Regions from separate parts of the Homo sapiens genome. Here region 1 is linked to region 2. The links are contacts of gene promoters, found by promoter capture Hi-C in blood cells and fetal thymus (Javierre and others, 2016). All regions are on one chromosome and are shown on one strand. Each heading gives the region's core, a stretch centred on a gene start or on the middle of the fragment in contact. The rest is flanking DNA. Distances are from core to core; before and after follow the strand shown. Region 1 holds the start of PABIR3 (PABIR family member 3). Region 2 holds the start of RAP2C-AS1 (RAP2C antisense RNA 1).

Evidence for each region. The method cuts DNA at HindIII sites, captures the fragments that hold promoters and counts their contacts. A CHiCAGO score of 5 or more calls a contact.
Region 1: a fragment that was not itself captured here is called in contact with the fragment with the promoter of RAP2C-AS1 in region 2 in 3 of 17 cell types (total B cells, non-activated CD4 T cells and naive CD4 T cells); the score reaches 6.5 in total B cells.

Annotation. Positions count from the first base shown.
Region 1 is chrX:134,801,752-134,809,037 of GRCh38, reverse strand. It overlaps PABIR3 (PABIR family member 3), which reads right to left and starts at 1,801. Exons shown (of 11, transcript NM_001388447.1): 1 at 1,697-1,801; 2 at 1,330-1,498. The coding sequence starts at 1,439. RefSeq lists enhancers at 1-899, 1,285-1,444. The HindIII fragment of the contact is 1,289 bases long and covers 871-2,159 here.
Region 2 is chrX:132,216,847-132,224,035 of GRCh38, reverse strand. RAP2C-AS1 (RAP2C antisense RNA 1) reads right to left here and starts at 5,529. Exons shown (of 3, transcript NR_110410.1): 1 at 5,199-5,529. It overlaps RAP2C (RAP2C, member of RAS oncogene family), which reads left to right and starts at 4,589. Exons shown (of 6, transcript NM_001271186.2): 1 at 4,589-4,666; 2 at 5,695-5,804; 3 at 6,024-6,120; 4 at 6,230-7,040. The coding sequence starts at 6,768. RefSeq lists enhancers at 1-283, 4,218-4,267, 4,598-4,667 and silencers at 6,100-6,149, 6,160-6,599. The HindIII fragment of the contact is 10,936 bases long and covers 4,046-7,189 here.

The sequences.
Region 1 (7,286 bases), core at 266-2,765, 2.6 Mb before region 2:
CCCCTTCGTGAAATTTTAATAACACATATATAGTATATATCTGTGTACATACTGTATGTATATCTGCGCTTTATACATAAAAAGAGTAAAAATTTTTCACACTCCCCCAAGAACTATTTTCTCTTCCCCTTGGGGGAAGTATCACCCAGTGAGAATGTGTAATTTAGGAGATCAAGCTTCTGTGGTACCAAAACTTTCTGCTCCAATAAAAAATAGGTGTAGGCCAGGAGCAGTGGCTCACGTCTGTAATACCAGCACTTTGGGAGGCTGAGGCAGGCGGATCCCCTGAGGCCAGGAGTTCGAGACCAGCCTGGCCAACATGGTGAAACCCTGTCTCTACTAAAAATACAAAAAATTAGGCCGGGCACGGTGGCTTACGCCTGTAATCCCAGCACTTTGGGAGGCCGAGGCGGGCGGATCACGAGGTCAGGAGATCAAGACCATCCTGACTAACACGGTGAAACCCTGTCTCTACTAAAAATACAAAAAATTAGCCGGGAGTGTTGGTGGGCGCCTGTAGTCCCAGCTACTTGGGAGGCTGAGTCAGGAGAATGGCGTGAACCCGGGAGGTGGAGCTTGCAGTGAGCCGAGATCACGCCACTGCACTCCAGCCTGGGCGACAGAGTGAGACTCCGTCTCAAAAATAAATAAACAAATAAATAAAAAATAAAAATACAAAAAATTACCAGGTGTGGTGGTGGGCGCCTGTAATCCTAGCTACTAGGGAGGCTGAGGCATGAGAATTGCTTGAAGCCAGGAGGCGGAGGTTACAGTAAGCTGAGATCGTGCCAATGCACTCCAGCCTGGGCGACAGAGCAAGACTCCGTCTCAAAAAAAGACAAAAAAAAAAATGTAAAAAAGTCCAAAGCTTATTTGCTTGACAACCATTTCCATTCAAGCGGCTGGAGGTGAAGGTCAGAGGTGACAAAGCAGCTGAAATGACAAATATTACAGTCATGGCAGAAGATCTGGAGGTGAGTGGGGGAGGATACTAAGTTTCTTCAAAGGAGTGGGTAAGAAATGGGTTGAAGTTAGAAAAAAGCCGTGCTCCACACCAACTGGCTGCTACTTTCGGGTCCGAGTGGACTATCAGGGGAGGATGTTCAGATTCAGATGTTTGTCAACCTCAGGGTGGGTGCGCGCTCCCCCTCAGGTCAGCCCGTCCCACTACCCCCACCCAAGGTTGAGGGTGGGATCTCCGGACACCAGGAACAAGGGAGTTACCTGCAGAACCTCAACAAATAAAGGGACGGGAATTCTATAGGAAATCACTTTCCCGAACACCTCCTCCCCACCGCTTGCCTCCTCCAGTATCTCAACCCGGCTCACCCAAGTCCATTGATCAAAGGGGCACTGTTGACTCTTCTCAGAATGTTGCCGTCTGCGGTAGTGGAACTCGGCAGCGACTTGAAACCTAGTTTCATTTTCTCCTGTGCCATGTCCGGGTCGAGGAATAAGTTCTCAAGGCTTTCCGGCTCCCGTCCACACAAGGACAAGTCTACTTAGTGGGCAGGTGATGTAAGGAGAGAGGCAAAGGGGAAAAAGAGAAGAGAGGAGAAAGCTCTTAGGCGAGTAGGGGTGCCCACCTTTGCAGCCCTAGCAGCCCTAACATCAGTGAACACAAAGTTAGGCAGAACTGGCTCCGAACCGCCTATCTCCCATGATCGGGGCCTCTAACGATGAGAAGATCCCCCACCTCCAAGTCTATAATGTAACTGGGGAATTTAATCTGTCACCGCCGCGAATCCTTCTCCATCTCTCTCAGCCCTGGCAACTCATGGTAAGCCTTTCCGGCCAAAACAAAAACTACAATCTGCCGCCTTTGACAATCAGTTGGGTCCCGCCCCTCAGAGCCTGCGATAAGCTATCAGCCGGACGACGCCTGTTGTGATGCAGGCAATGACGTCACTTCAGGCGCCTTAGTCAGCTTTGCCAGGGGCGCACGCGCAGTTAAGAAACCGCTTTATCCCCATGTCCTGCCCTCCTTCCTCTTTCCCCAATGCCCACTTACCGTGGTTGTGCCTCTACTCTTTTACTAACCCTGGCATGGTTTCCTTAAGCATTATTTAGAAATGAAAGCGTTGGGAGGAGTGAGGTCCTTCCTGCCCTATGCCTAATTCTCATTTTTCTTATCCCTTTATGACTGAGGCCAACAAGCTTCTAACCTCCTATGATGCATTTTTCCATCCTGTAACAGCAGACACACTACACCTTTGTAATTTTAGAAAAGCAAAAGTCTGAAAAAAAAAAAAAAAAAAAGATACTGCTACCTAAGTGCTTAGAGGCCACTTGGTCCCAAAGGGTCTTGCTAAGGTGCTAACCTAACTGAGCTCATTTGGCAAACGAATTACTGTTTTCAGTGTGGTTTCTTTCTTTCTTTTTTAAACCATAATCGTACAGTTTTTTGTTTTTTTTTTTTTGAGATGGAATTTCGCTCTTGTTGCTCAGGCTGGAGTGCAGTGGCCGCGATCTCGGCTCACTGCAACCTCCACCTCCCAGGTTCAAGCGATTCTCCTGCCTCAGCCTCCCGAGTAGCTGGGATTACAGGTGCTCGCCACCACGCCTGGTTAATTTTTGTATTTTAGTAGAGACGGGGTTTCACCATGTTGGCCAGGCTGGTCTCGAACTCCTGGACCTCAGGTGATCCGCCCGCCTCGTCCTCCCAAAGTGCTGGGATTACAGGCGTGAGCCACCGCGCCTGCCTCAGTGTGTATTTTTACATTATATATAATCTGGCTCCTCACAGCTATTCATATAAAAAATAAAGACCTCAGCTAATTTACAAAGATTTGAGTTAAAGCAGTGAGGCTTTTTTAAAAACAAATATCTCAGAATTTAGTATCAATGCAAATCAGTGTTTTCATTTCAGGTAGTATTAGAAGCTACATACATTCTAAGAATGCTGCCATGGCTCATATCGTTTTAAGAACTACTCTTTTAGAAATTTTCACCATCACTTAATGAGCCACACTGAGTACTGAAATCTTAACTCCATGCTAATAATTTTGTAAAACCACACATTTTAGTAACCATATAGAGAACTGGCAGACAAGGCAAATAAACCTAGTGAAATGGGAGTTATTAATTAAAATAGTCATAACACTGGTATAGCACTTTACGGATAACATTTTTTTTTTTTTGAGACGGAGTTTCGCTCTTGTTGCCCAGGCTGGAGTGCAATGGCGCAATCTTGGCTCACCACAACCTCCACCTCCCTGGTTCAAGCGATTCTCCTGACTCAGCCTCCAGAGTAGCTGGGATTACAGGCATGTGCCACCACTCCCAGCTAATTTTGTATTTTTAGTAGAGATGGGGTTTCTCCATGTTGGTCAGGCTGGTCTCGAACTCCCGACCTCAGGTGATCCACCCGCCTCGGCCTCCCAAAGTGCTGGGATTACAGGTATGAGCCTCCACGCCTGGCCTACAAAATGTTTTCACATACTTATCTGGATTGGTTCAATCATCAACCCTGCTCAGCTACCCAGTGGTGAACTTAAAATAATGGGACAGTCTTGAGATAGTTCGTGACAAGTTATGACATGTAAGGTAATAAATATGTATTCTTTGTTCATTCTGGGAATAGAATAAGACAAACTTGAGTATATTAGGCAGAATTAGATTACTTAAATCCCAGACATGAGGATGATGTGGAGTCTCCATTCCTTATATAAGACAGATTAGTAATAGCTACCGTTTGTTGGGCACTTACTATGTGCCAGGTACTGTCCTAATCACTTTAAATAGGTGATTGCATTTAAAGTTTACAATAATTCTTTGAGGTAGGCACCATCACAATGCCCATTTTTCACAGGAGGAAACCAAAGCCCAGAGGGGTTTACTCAAGTTGCAACTACTAAGTGGCAAAGCCAAGATTCCTCTGCCCTTCTGTTTAAGTAAAAAAAAAAATGAGATGCCTCAGAATATCTCCTTGAATTTCTGTACTCATAAGCACTTGATAAATACTTCTGAAATTATTTTATGAATAAATGCAGGTTTAAATAGCCTATCTTTCATAGTTATCTTGTAAAGTAGGTAAATCATTTCTATTTTACAGTTGGATAAAATTCCAAAGAGATTAATGGCACATAATTAGATAGCAGGAGAATTCAGGCTAGTATCAAGATGTCCTAAAAGCCACTGTTAAAATTCCCAGGGTACCTGAACGTTTATAAAAGATGGTGGTTAAAGCTGAGTAAATTCAGGATGAATGCAGAAGGCAGTGATTAAAGACAGAACAGAGTCAAAAAACAAATTGTCTGAATAACAGAAAAATATGAAGCAGGCCAGTGAACAAGGGAATCTTACCTCCATTGTGTTCATTTTAATTTTCAACTTTTGCTAGTATTCTTGGCAGGTAGTAAGGTTTCATACGTATATTTTGAATAAATAGACAAAATTTCATCCTGCCTAAGCATTACAAGTATCTAATTTTTAAATAAGTACAACAACACTAAGAAAATAGGTATAATAAAATGACAAGGGAAGAGTGACTAAGGGACTATGTTTCTAAGAAAAGGAGTAATATGAAATAACTAAATATATGAGATGGTAATAAGTTTACAGCTATTATCAAAGAGAAGGAGCTCTCTTTTACAAAAGAACAGCTACATGTCAGGAACCCCAAACCTGTAAAGATATAAATAGGACTCATAGTACATACACAAATTGGAATATCAAAAGGAACAAGTAATACAAAAACAGCAAGAATTCTATATGCTACAATGGCAAACACAACATTAAAGAAATTGTTTTTACTTCTCCCCATTTCTACGCACACATTATTATACCAACCTAGCTGTGTTTCTTGATCAGTCCTTCCAGTTCCAGGGAAATATGCCATGATCTTGGGACACTGCTTTTGTTAGATCTAGACTTGACAATTAGGCTACTCCTCTCTTTGCATATCCCAGTCTGCTGCGTCTGTCCCAGGCCCTCACCTATAAAAGGGAACCAACAAACATGTGATAATCAGCTCTTTATTTTACCAGTTGTCATGACAACCTTGAAGCTACGTTGTAACCTTTAGTTACCACAAGAGCAAGTCAAATACAAGTCAAACCCAAATCTACAAACCACAAACACCCCAAACCTTCCCAAAAGATTTACATGAAAGGTTAAAAAAAAAAAAAAAACTAGCAGGCAAGAATGATGTTAATAAAACCTAGAAATGATGGCCAAAGTAGCATTATTCTCCTCGCGTTCTCCTAAATTGTTAAGCTCCTGAGGTCAGTGCATGCATGTGGTCAACAAATGATTGTTTAGTAGCTATTGTGAACAAAAGAATGTATTATAATTTCTTTTGAGCAGGGAGTAGGAGGTGGGGCTGGCCTTAAGGGTTGCTGAGACCTTGAGATAAAAAGAGATACCTAAGTTGCTCAAAAACAGAGGTTGTTGTTTCTAATCTAGCTGGGAGAAAAATACAGGCAATTTAAAGGAAACTATCTAAAAGTACTTACAAATCCCTCATACTGCAGGCAGAAAGCATAAACAGTGAGGAATAAAATGATAATTGGCCTTGGCAAGTTTAGTATGGGATAATTGAAAAGAGGCAGGCAAAATTATTATTTCTGGCTGAATTTTGAAAGCAATTTCAGAACTATTACATTTCAATGCAATGGCCTTCTCTTCCCCAGGGCCATTCAAGTGGTGAGGATTAAAAGAGTTTGTGGAGTCCTGATAAGATAAGTAAGAAACAATGAGAAAGGGGCCCCAGGTGGGGAAGAACAATGAAAAATTGTTCTGAGAGACCTAGGGCACAAAGACCTCCTTCCACATGTGGCCCCAGCAGCATGACTTGTTTCCACATGCAGCCCCCTCCAGCTCCCTCCAGCCCCTGCCTCTTTGCAGACAGCTCCTCCTCTGCAGTGCTGCCCTTTGCCTCCTTGCAACATACTTCCATACCTTCTCTAGTAAATCTGCCTTTCTTTACCTACAACTGTCTTGGTCAATTCCTTTACCACCTGCGCCACTGGCCAGCTGCACCTGCAACATTTTGGTAGTTCGTATGGGCCTCTCCCCTACTTTCTCCCTTTCCTCCAATTCCAACCTCTCGTTGGACAGTGTCAAAACCCTGAGATAATTTTAAGTCCCTGGCCGGGGCTGCTCCCCAGGGAACCAGAAGGTCCTGGTGGAAAGACACCAGACTGCTGTCCCACGATTCTGTGAGACTTCAGAATTTGCTTTACTTTTCAGTCTTCCAGAGGACAAATTCTAGTATCCCTCTGGCAATTGATGGCAACTGGTCAGGGCCATTTCCTGGTGTGGCCTCAAGGCCAGCGGGTGTGAACAGGTTTGGCTGCCTTGCCTAGAAGGGAAGAAGGCCCTCTCCTATCTCTTCTGGCGAAAAGGTCTGCAATCCCTATGTAGTGCAATTGGCACATATGTTTTGGGGAGCTCAGAGCCCCTCTTTCTTACTCTAAATAGTCCTGCAAAAACAGCCAGACCTCCTGCTCTGGACGTTCCCAAATTAGGTGATAGCAAGCAGCCTCAGAGCAGTGAGTCTCCCCATTCTGGTCCTCTCTCCTGGGATGGGACCAGGCTGAGTTCTTCCTTTACCCTTTTTCCTTGTACCGGGGCTAACCATCCAGCGTAAGGCCCCAGCGCTGAGATGTCCTTTCTAATAGGTGGGATGCCCCTTTAGAGAGTGCACTTGAGGCCGGGCACGGTGGCTCATGCCTGTAATCCCAGCACTTTGGGAGGCCGAGGTGGGTGGATCACCTGAGGTCAGGAGTTCAAGACCAGCCTGGCCAACATGGCGAAACCCCATCTCTACTAAAAATACAAAAAATTAGCTGGACGTAGTGGTGCATGCCTGTAATCCCAGCTACCTGGGAGGCTGACACAGGAGAATCGCTTGAACCTGGGAGGCGGAGGTTGCAGTGAGCCGAGATCCCACCACTGCACTCCAGCCTGGGCGACAAAGCGAGATTCCATCTCAAAAGAAAAGAAAAGAAAGTGCACTGGAATCCCTCAGCAGATGTGAGTTGAGCCCTCTTCCTGGTGGGGCAGGGGGGTGGGGGCGGCGAGAGAGTGTGGTTCGTGTCTGCAGCAGACGTTAGTCCCCGGCAGCTCATCGTTTTCCAGTCCCACCATGGGACAAACCTCCTCTATTCCGTCAGACTCACCTATGAGTTGCATCCCAAAACGCTGAGACAAATGTAACCCTCAGATTAAAAAAAAAAAAAAAGTCGAATTTTCTTTTGTAATACAGCATGGCCCCTATGCAGAAAACCTCAAATCAGTCTCCTCAGTCTTTTATAACCAAGAGCAGGATAAGGACAGGGCTA
Region 2 (7,189 bases), core at 4,280-6,779:
CATATGCAGCACAGCCAATGGTTGAACCTGGCATGGATGTCGCTAGCCCCTGATTTTGTATACCGCAATTAAGACCTTTGTAAAAACACATTCCATGGCTTCCTACAGCCTCCAGGGGAAAAGTCAAACCCCTTAGCTTACTACTCAAGGCTTTCCCCTATGGTTCTAGCCCCTACCGATTCTTCTGGCCTCCTTGCCTACTGCCCAATCACCTTCTCTAGGAAATCTTCCCTGATACCCTTCCTAAGTCTCCCATAACACCCTGGCCGATATCTGTATCACAGGATGTGCCACGCTATACTGTAATGTTGATTGTATTGTCTATATTCCTCAAAAATGCTAGTAAAGTGCTTGGCACAGAGTAGGAATTCAATAACTGTGTGATAAATGAATGAGTGGATACATTAATGAGTATCAAGCAAGAAAGCCCCAAATAATGTCCTACCGCTTTACAGAACAGTGGTGCTTAAAATGTGGTCCCTGGGCCAGCAGCAACAGTGTCATCTGGGAACTTAGATATGCAAATTATAGATCCTGACCCAGACCTACTGAATAAAAAACTCTGGGGTTGAGACCTGGCCGTCTGTGGTTCACATCACCTCCAGGTGATTCTGATGTACATATATTAGGAGTATGGGAGTATAGTTATTATTAGTACTAATTCTTTAAATTTATTTGGTACTTGATAGATTACAAAATAATTTTCTAACTACTATCTTTCAAATCAAGGATGAAGTGGAGAGGGAAAAATTGTTAAGGAATTCAGATCTATTTTAAACACATCCCTATTTAGTACGCCTCTCAGTTCTGAGAAACTAACTTTGTCAGCAGTCGCACAAATTTGTGACTTTGTAGGAGTGTCTGCCTGGCCAGGTTGGGGTAGTGTCCTCTGTGGTCAGCAGCACCTCTAGTGAAATCTCATTGATTGGATGAAGGATTCCAGGTGAGCAAAATTGAATGTGATTAAATTCTCATTGATGCTGTAGGAAAGCTAAAGCTATAGGAAAAAAGGCTTACTCATGTAGGGGATGAGGGATACATGAGTATTTTTTAGTGCTTTATGCAGACATGATGTTTCAGTAAGTGAAAGAAGCCATTCACAAATTTATATGAACCCATTATTAGTTTACAAAAAAAAAATGTTCTTTAACTCTCTCCAGAAAAAAAATTGTGAAAGACACTAAAATGTTAATAGCAATTTTCTCCAGGTAGTGGGATTATACTTTTATAATTTTTTGCAAATAACATTATTTTCATGAGAAAAAAGATAATAATAAAGGTATAAAATTGGTTTTGTGTACTGGGGGAGCCTGACATGCAGAACTAATGATTAACTAATGATTGGTGTAGCTGGAGGCAGGATTTGAAAGAGAAGATTGGAATCTTAGAGGGTAGGAGCTAGAAAGAATCCAGGACAATTTAGCTGATATCAATGGGGTCCCTAAAGCATTGAAATAAGATTTCTGTAGGCAAAGACTGAGGACATTACTGGCTCAAGCTTTCTGGTAATTCAAGAGCAACTTCTAGCAAAAGAGAAGGGAAGAGCCTGGATGGAAAATAGATAGCCATGTATAGAAAGTAGATGGATAGCCATGGGTTTTTTCCCAGGACCTAGAAGGCAAGACGGCTCATTTGGAGAGTGGAAGTTAGGGTAAAATATCCCAGGCAGTTGGTGGCTCCAAGGATTGCAACTGAAGGAGGTAACAACTCGAAAAGAAGAAAGGGATAAGTAAGCAACTGGTGCCTGTAGCAAACATCCAGCACTTTAAACTTGTGCCAAACTAATTTCAAAAAATGAGATTATGGCCCTATTACTTATATTATCTGCATATAGTGCATACACTGTGGTTTCTTCACACTATGGTAAAAATGGGTTGTGTTCTTTAAAATAATGCCTGAGCAATACTTTGGAAAGGAGGTTGATGCAGAATTAAAGCAAAAGTTGTGAATCTCAAGGGCATGATCTCTAGAGAAGTCCTCCCATTCCCCTCTTCCCATATTCAAGCCTTTGGAGTAGAAAATTATTACTTGAGCAGTTTCTATTTATTGAGCAATTAATATTTGGAAGGCTAAATGCTTTGAATGGATTTCTCATTTATTATTCTATGAGTTAGATACTGCTATTATGCCCAACTTTACAAATGAAGGAATGGAGGTGTAGCTTGCAAAAGGGCAGTGTTAGGACTGTCTGGCTCTGAAGTCCAAATTCCTTCTAAAACGCTGCCCTGCATTTGTTAGTCCTGAAAATACCCTAAAGCAAGTAACAATCACTATAAAATGCTAAAATTAGTAATACCTACTGTGAGGTTATAAAATGATACGGTCATACTGCATTGGTGGGAATGTGAATTGGTGTGACCTTTCTGAAGGACAATTTGGCAATACTTACCAGAAGAATTTTAAGTGCAAGTGCCTTTTGTTTCAATTATTGAATTACTAGAAATTCACCCTAAACATTAACTGACAATGATATATGTCCAAGGCGTTTAGTGCAAAAACCTAGAAGCAATCAGTGTCCTTCAAAGGGGAGCTGGCTAATTAGCTTATGATACAGCCATGAAATAAAAATTAAGAAGGCCAGACATGGTGGCTCATGCCTTTAATCCCAGCACTTTGGGAGGCCAAGTCGGGAGGATCCCTTGAGCTCAGGAGTTGGAGACCACCATGGGCAACATAGTAAGACTCCATCTCTACCAAAAAAATTAAATTAAATTAAATTAGCTGTGTGTGGTGGCATGTACCTGTAGTCCTAGCTACTCGGGAGGCTGAGGTGGGAGGATCCCTTGAGTCCAGGAGGTTGAGGCTGCAGTGAGCTATGATCATGCTACTGCCCTCCAGCTTGGGTAACAGAGGGAGACACTGTCTTAAAAAAATTAATTAATTAAAGTTTAAAAAGCAAGGTAAAAAATAGTGTGTACAGTTGATTACTTTTGTAGTACAGTAATTTTTAAAAATATATATAGAAGGTAGATTGATACACTGACATATGAATAATGTTCCCCCCTGAAAAACATAAGAAGCTTTTAACAATAAATATCTTTGTGAAGAGTAACTGAATTATTATTTTCGTGCCACTTGCAGATATTTGAGCTTTTAAAATTTTGTTACCCCCATGTTTGCTATTTTTTAAAAATTAACAATTCATTAAATCTTTTAAATAAAAACCAAATAGCATTTATTGAGGCTTTATAATGTGCAAGGGACTGTGCTAAGCACTTTACCTGTAATACCTCATTACATTTTCACGTTAACTTCTTATCTCCTTTTTACAAGTGAGGAGTTAGAGGCTCAGACAAGTGAAATCACTTGCTTGGGGACACAGAGCTAGAATGTGGCGGAGCTGCAATTTTAATGCACCTCTGTCTCATTTCAGAGCCTTAGCTCTCAACTGCCAGGCCGCACTCTTCTGCTTGCTCTTTATACCCTCATTGCTTAATGAGAGTACACTAGCAAACAACAGGAGTCTAATGAGATAATGTATGTGAAAATACTTTTCTAAGTATAGAGATGTTTGGGGAGGGCAAGCAAGGGTAGGGAATTTGTTTAAATTGGGCGGACCTGTCCACTGACCCCTAGACAGTCAGGATTTTTTTTTTTTTTTTTTACAAAACCAAGATCAACAACTTTCTTTTGTTCCTCCTTTAAAAATATTATAAAGTTATATTTACTTCCTTTTTCCCAATTATTGTTTATAAATTAAAATATGGAGAAATAAAAGCCATTTCATAATAGTCCTCACCCATAATTACTTTGTTTCAGATTTGAATGGCTATGTAACTATTACACACCTGCGTTTTACATAAACAGTAGCAACTAGACATTTGTTCAGTATCTTGCTTTTTCAGCCCTACAATATATCTTGGCCATCTTTTTATATAAACACTTACAAATCTGCTTTTCTCTTTTAAAGTAGCTGCATAATATCCTATTCTGTGAATACAGATAGGTAGGTAGGTAGGTTGGTAGATAGATAGATAGATGATAGATAATAGATATAGAGAGCTATGAAACTTTTAAAAATCACCTACTGAAGGACATTTAAGCTTCTTCCAATTGTTTGATTTCCTAATCAATGCTGTAATGAATACCCTTCCTAAGAAAGTTTAGAAGGATCTTTAGACTGAGTGTAATATTTGTCCACTGTAGTTGACGAGAGTGACCCCACAGGACGCTGTACTGAGGGGAGGAGTATGTTTCACTGCGTGGAGAAACAAAGAACTCTCTCCTAAGCATGACCAACACATTCAGAGATATTAGAATTGCCAACAGGTGGGATGACCTGAAAAAGAACTCCTTGCTTTGACAGTTTAGTAATAGAGCAAAGACTTGCCACGATTGCTCAACACTGGCTGGATCAGAAGAGGAATTTCCAGACTCAGTTACAAGCACGGCTGGTGGAGGGCTGTGAATCCCACCAGACAGTCTGGAGACAGCTAGGCAGGGAGATGAGCAGCAGAGCTCCAAATCAGGCAACAGCACGTGTGAAAGGAGCAGTGACCTGTGGGGAAACTCATAACTCACAGACCAAACCCCTTCCAGCAGAGGGCAGTGCCTCTGATACGACACAGGGCCCAGGCCAGCTGGAGCCAGAGCTGGGGACTTCGCTGGAGAGATGGCACCGGCCTGAGGTCAAGGAGAAATTGAACTAAACTCTCCTTTGAAGACTGTAAGTGACATTGGGGAATACTCAGGGAGGGACAGTGGGACCTCACACTACTATGATTCGCCTGTGTTCTAATGTCCAACAATTTAGGCTGAGTAATAAATCTCTTTATAGAGTTTGGCCATTTAGGGCTTGTAAGTAAGGGAATTTGGAGTCATTTTTGCTAGGCTGGCCACTGAGTCTCGCAGGTTTCTGGGTACATGCTTGAATTGAAAAGAAAGTGACACACCTAAAATACAGCCTAGACTCCTGGCCCTGGGGCTCTGTGGATCCGACACAAAGTTTACAAATAGAAAGCTAGCAAAGGGAAAGATAGTCGGAAGTAACAATTTTATCTAAAAATAGAAACTTAGAATCTAACACCAGAGTTACTACTTGCTTTTGAATTTCAAAGACTACATAGGATGGCCTTTAAAACAAAACTTCAGCATGTAAGAGCCAGCCAAGCAAATTGTTATACATAATCAACGATTAAAATAAATTAGTCTTTAGGCCTAAACCGTTTCCAATCAAATCTTTCTTGAATATTGGTTACCTTTTCTGCCGTGTAGTGGTTGGAATCAAATGAGAACATAGCTGAGCAGAGTACCATAAAGTCTACTTCTAATGCTGCTGTTTTCGAGCCTTGTGATTTTTTTTTAAGTGACTTTAGTATTCGCTGGTAAAGTCAAGGCGGATCTACCAGACGGTAAAAGTTCTGTGTGTTTGTCAGGCACGGCTAAGTAAAACGCACTGCATCTGAAAGTCTAAGGGTAGTTTGCATGCATCTCTCAGCAAAATAGCAAGTGGAAGAAATACCAGCAAGGAGAATAAACTTTCTGGGCTGTTTGATTTCCCCTGCAACTTCTAGTCCAGGGATGTTTGGCGTTCTCCCGGTCGCTAGATTATTAGCCCGCAGGTTCCGCACCGGCCAGGGAGCCGCTCAAGTCCTAGGGCCGGGCGGCTGGAGGTTGCAGGTCGGAGGGGCTTCTACGGGTTTGGGGGTGGGACGGTCCGCGGCAGCCGCGGGCGGGTAAGGACTGACGTCGCAGGTTTCCAGAGGCCCGTTCCCGAAGCCGGAGTCCCGACCCGAAACCGTCCCCGGCCGGCTCGCTCGCTCAGCAGGGCGCGGCTCCAGCGCCACCCGGCTCGCCCCGAAGAGGTGGGACTTTCCCCACCGGAAGTGATCCCGTCCAGTCTCGGGGAACTGGGGCACCTCAGCCAGTGTGTCAGGGAAACCCTTCCGGGTGTGTGCTTGGTGGGGGTGGGGGTGGGGGTGGGGGTGGGGGTGGGGGGTGGGTGAGAAAAAAAAGAGGTGGGTTCGCCTGGAGTCCCTGCGGCCGCCGCGGAAGGCCCCCGCTTCTTTCCCCGCGGCGAGCAGCAGCGCTGGGGCAGCGGAGAGACAGAGGAGCCAGCGGGTGGCCATGGCCTTGGCGTGACAGAGCCTCCCCGGCGGCCGGGCGGGTGCGGACGGCGGGGTAAGCGGCAGTAGCTTGATCCGGGTGGGAGTTGGGGGAGGCGGCGGCCGGCGCCGCAGGTTCGGGGCGGGGGTCAGCCGGGTAATGTGCGTCCTTCTCCCCTTCACAGGCCGGACGACCCCCGCGGGAGCCGGGGCCCAGAAACCCGCCCGGGCAGCGGTAACTGGAACGGAGCCCTCAGGCCTGAGCCGGCTGGGCTGCGCGAGCAGGAAGCGGGGTCCCTGGGCCCCTTTGTGTGAAGGGCGGGGGAGGAGTGCCGGGCAGCCCCGGGCTGCGGGCTCCTCCGACGTCCGCCTCGCCGCAGGGTCCCCTCGCCGCAGCCCCCACCCTTTCCCTCCCGGGGGCACGCGCCTCCTCGCCACCCTCGCCGGGCTTTTCCCAGGCTCGCCCTCCTCCCCACGCCCCCTGCTCGGGCTGCAGTTCCTATAGGAAGGGCATTACCATCCCTTCCCCACCCTCCCCGACTCTACGCTCTTTCCCCTCCCCCTCCTGTAACTTCCTCTTCTTCCCCGGTTGGGCCCTCTGCTCCTCTGCACTCTCCTCCCCAGTTCGCAGATTTCCGCCCACCTTCCGCCTCGTCTAGCCGCGCCACAGCTAGCGGGGTGATCTTTCCCCCCCTCTGGTAGGAGTTGGTGAAGGTGAGACTCATGAGGGAATACAAGGTAGTGGTGTTAGGGAGTGGAGGGGTTGGCAAATCTGCCCTTACTGTGCAGTTTGTCACTGGGACTTTCATTGAGAAATATGACCCCACCATTGAAGATTTCTACCGCAAAGAGATCGAAGTGGACTCTTCCCCCTCCGTGCTGGAAATTCTGGACACCGCAGGAACTGAGCAGTTTGCCTCCATGAGAGATCTCTACATCAAAAACGGCCAAGGTTTCATCCTGGTTTATAGCCTGGTTAATCAACAGTCTTTTCAGGTAACCAAACCAAGTCTTGTAATTTGTTAGAAGGGGGTGTGGTAATCCGACATCGACTTCTGGGTTGCTTGAACCGTGCATTAATGACTGTGCTTTGCTTTTGAAAGTTAGACATGACGCATTTTTGAGGTTACTCCTGCCATGGAAGA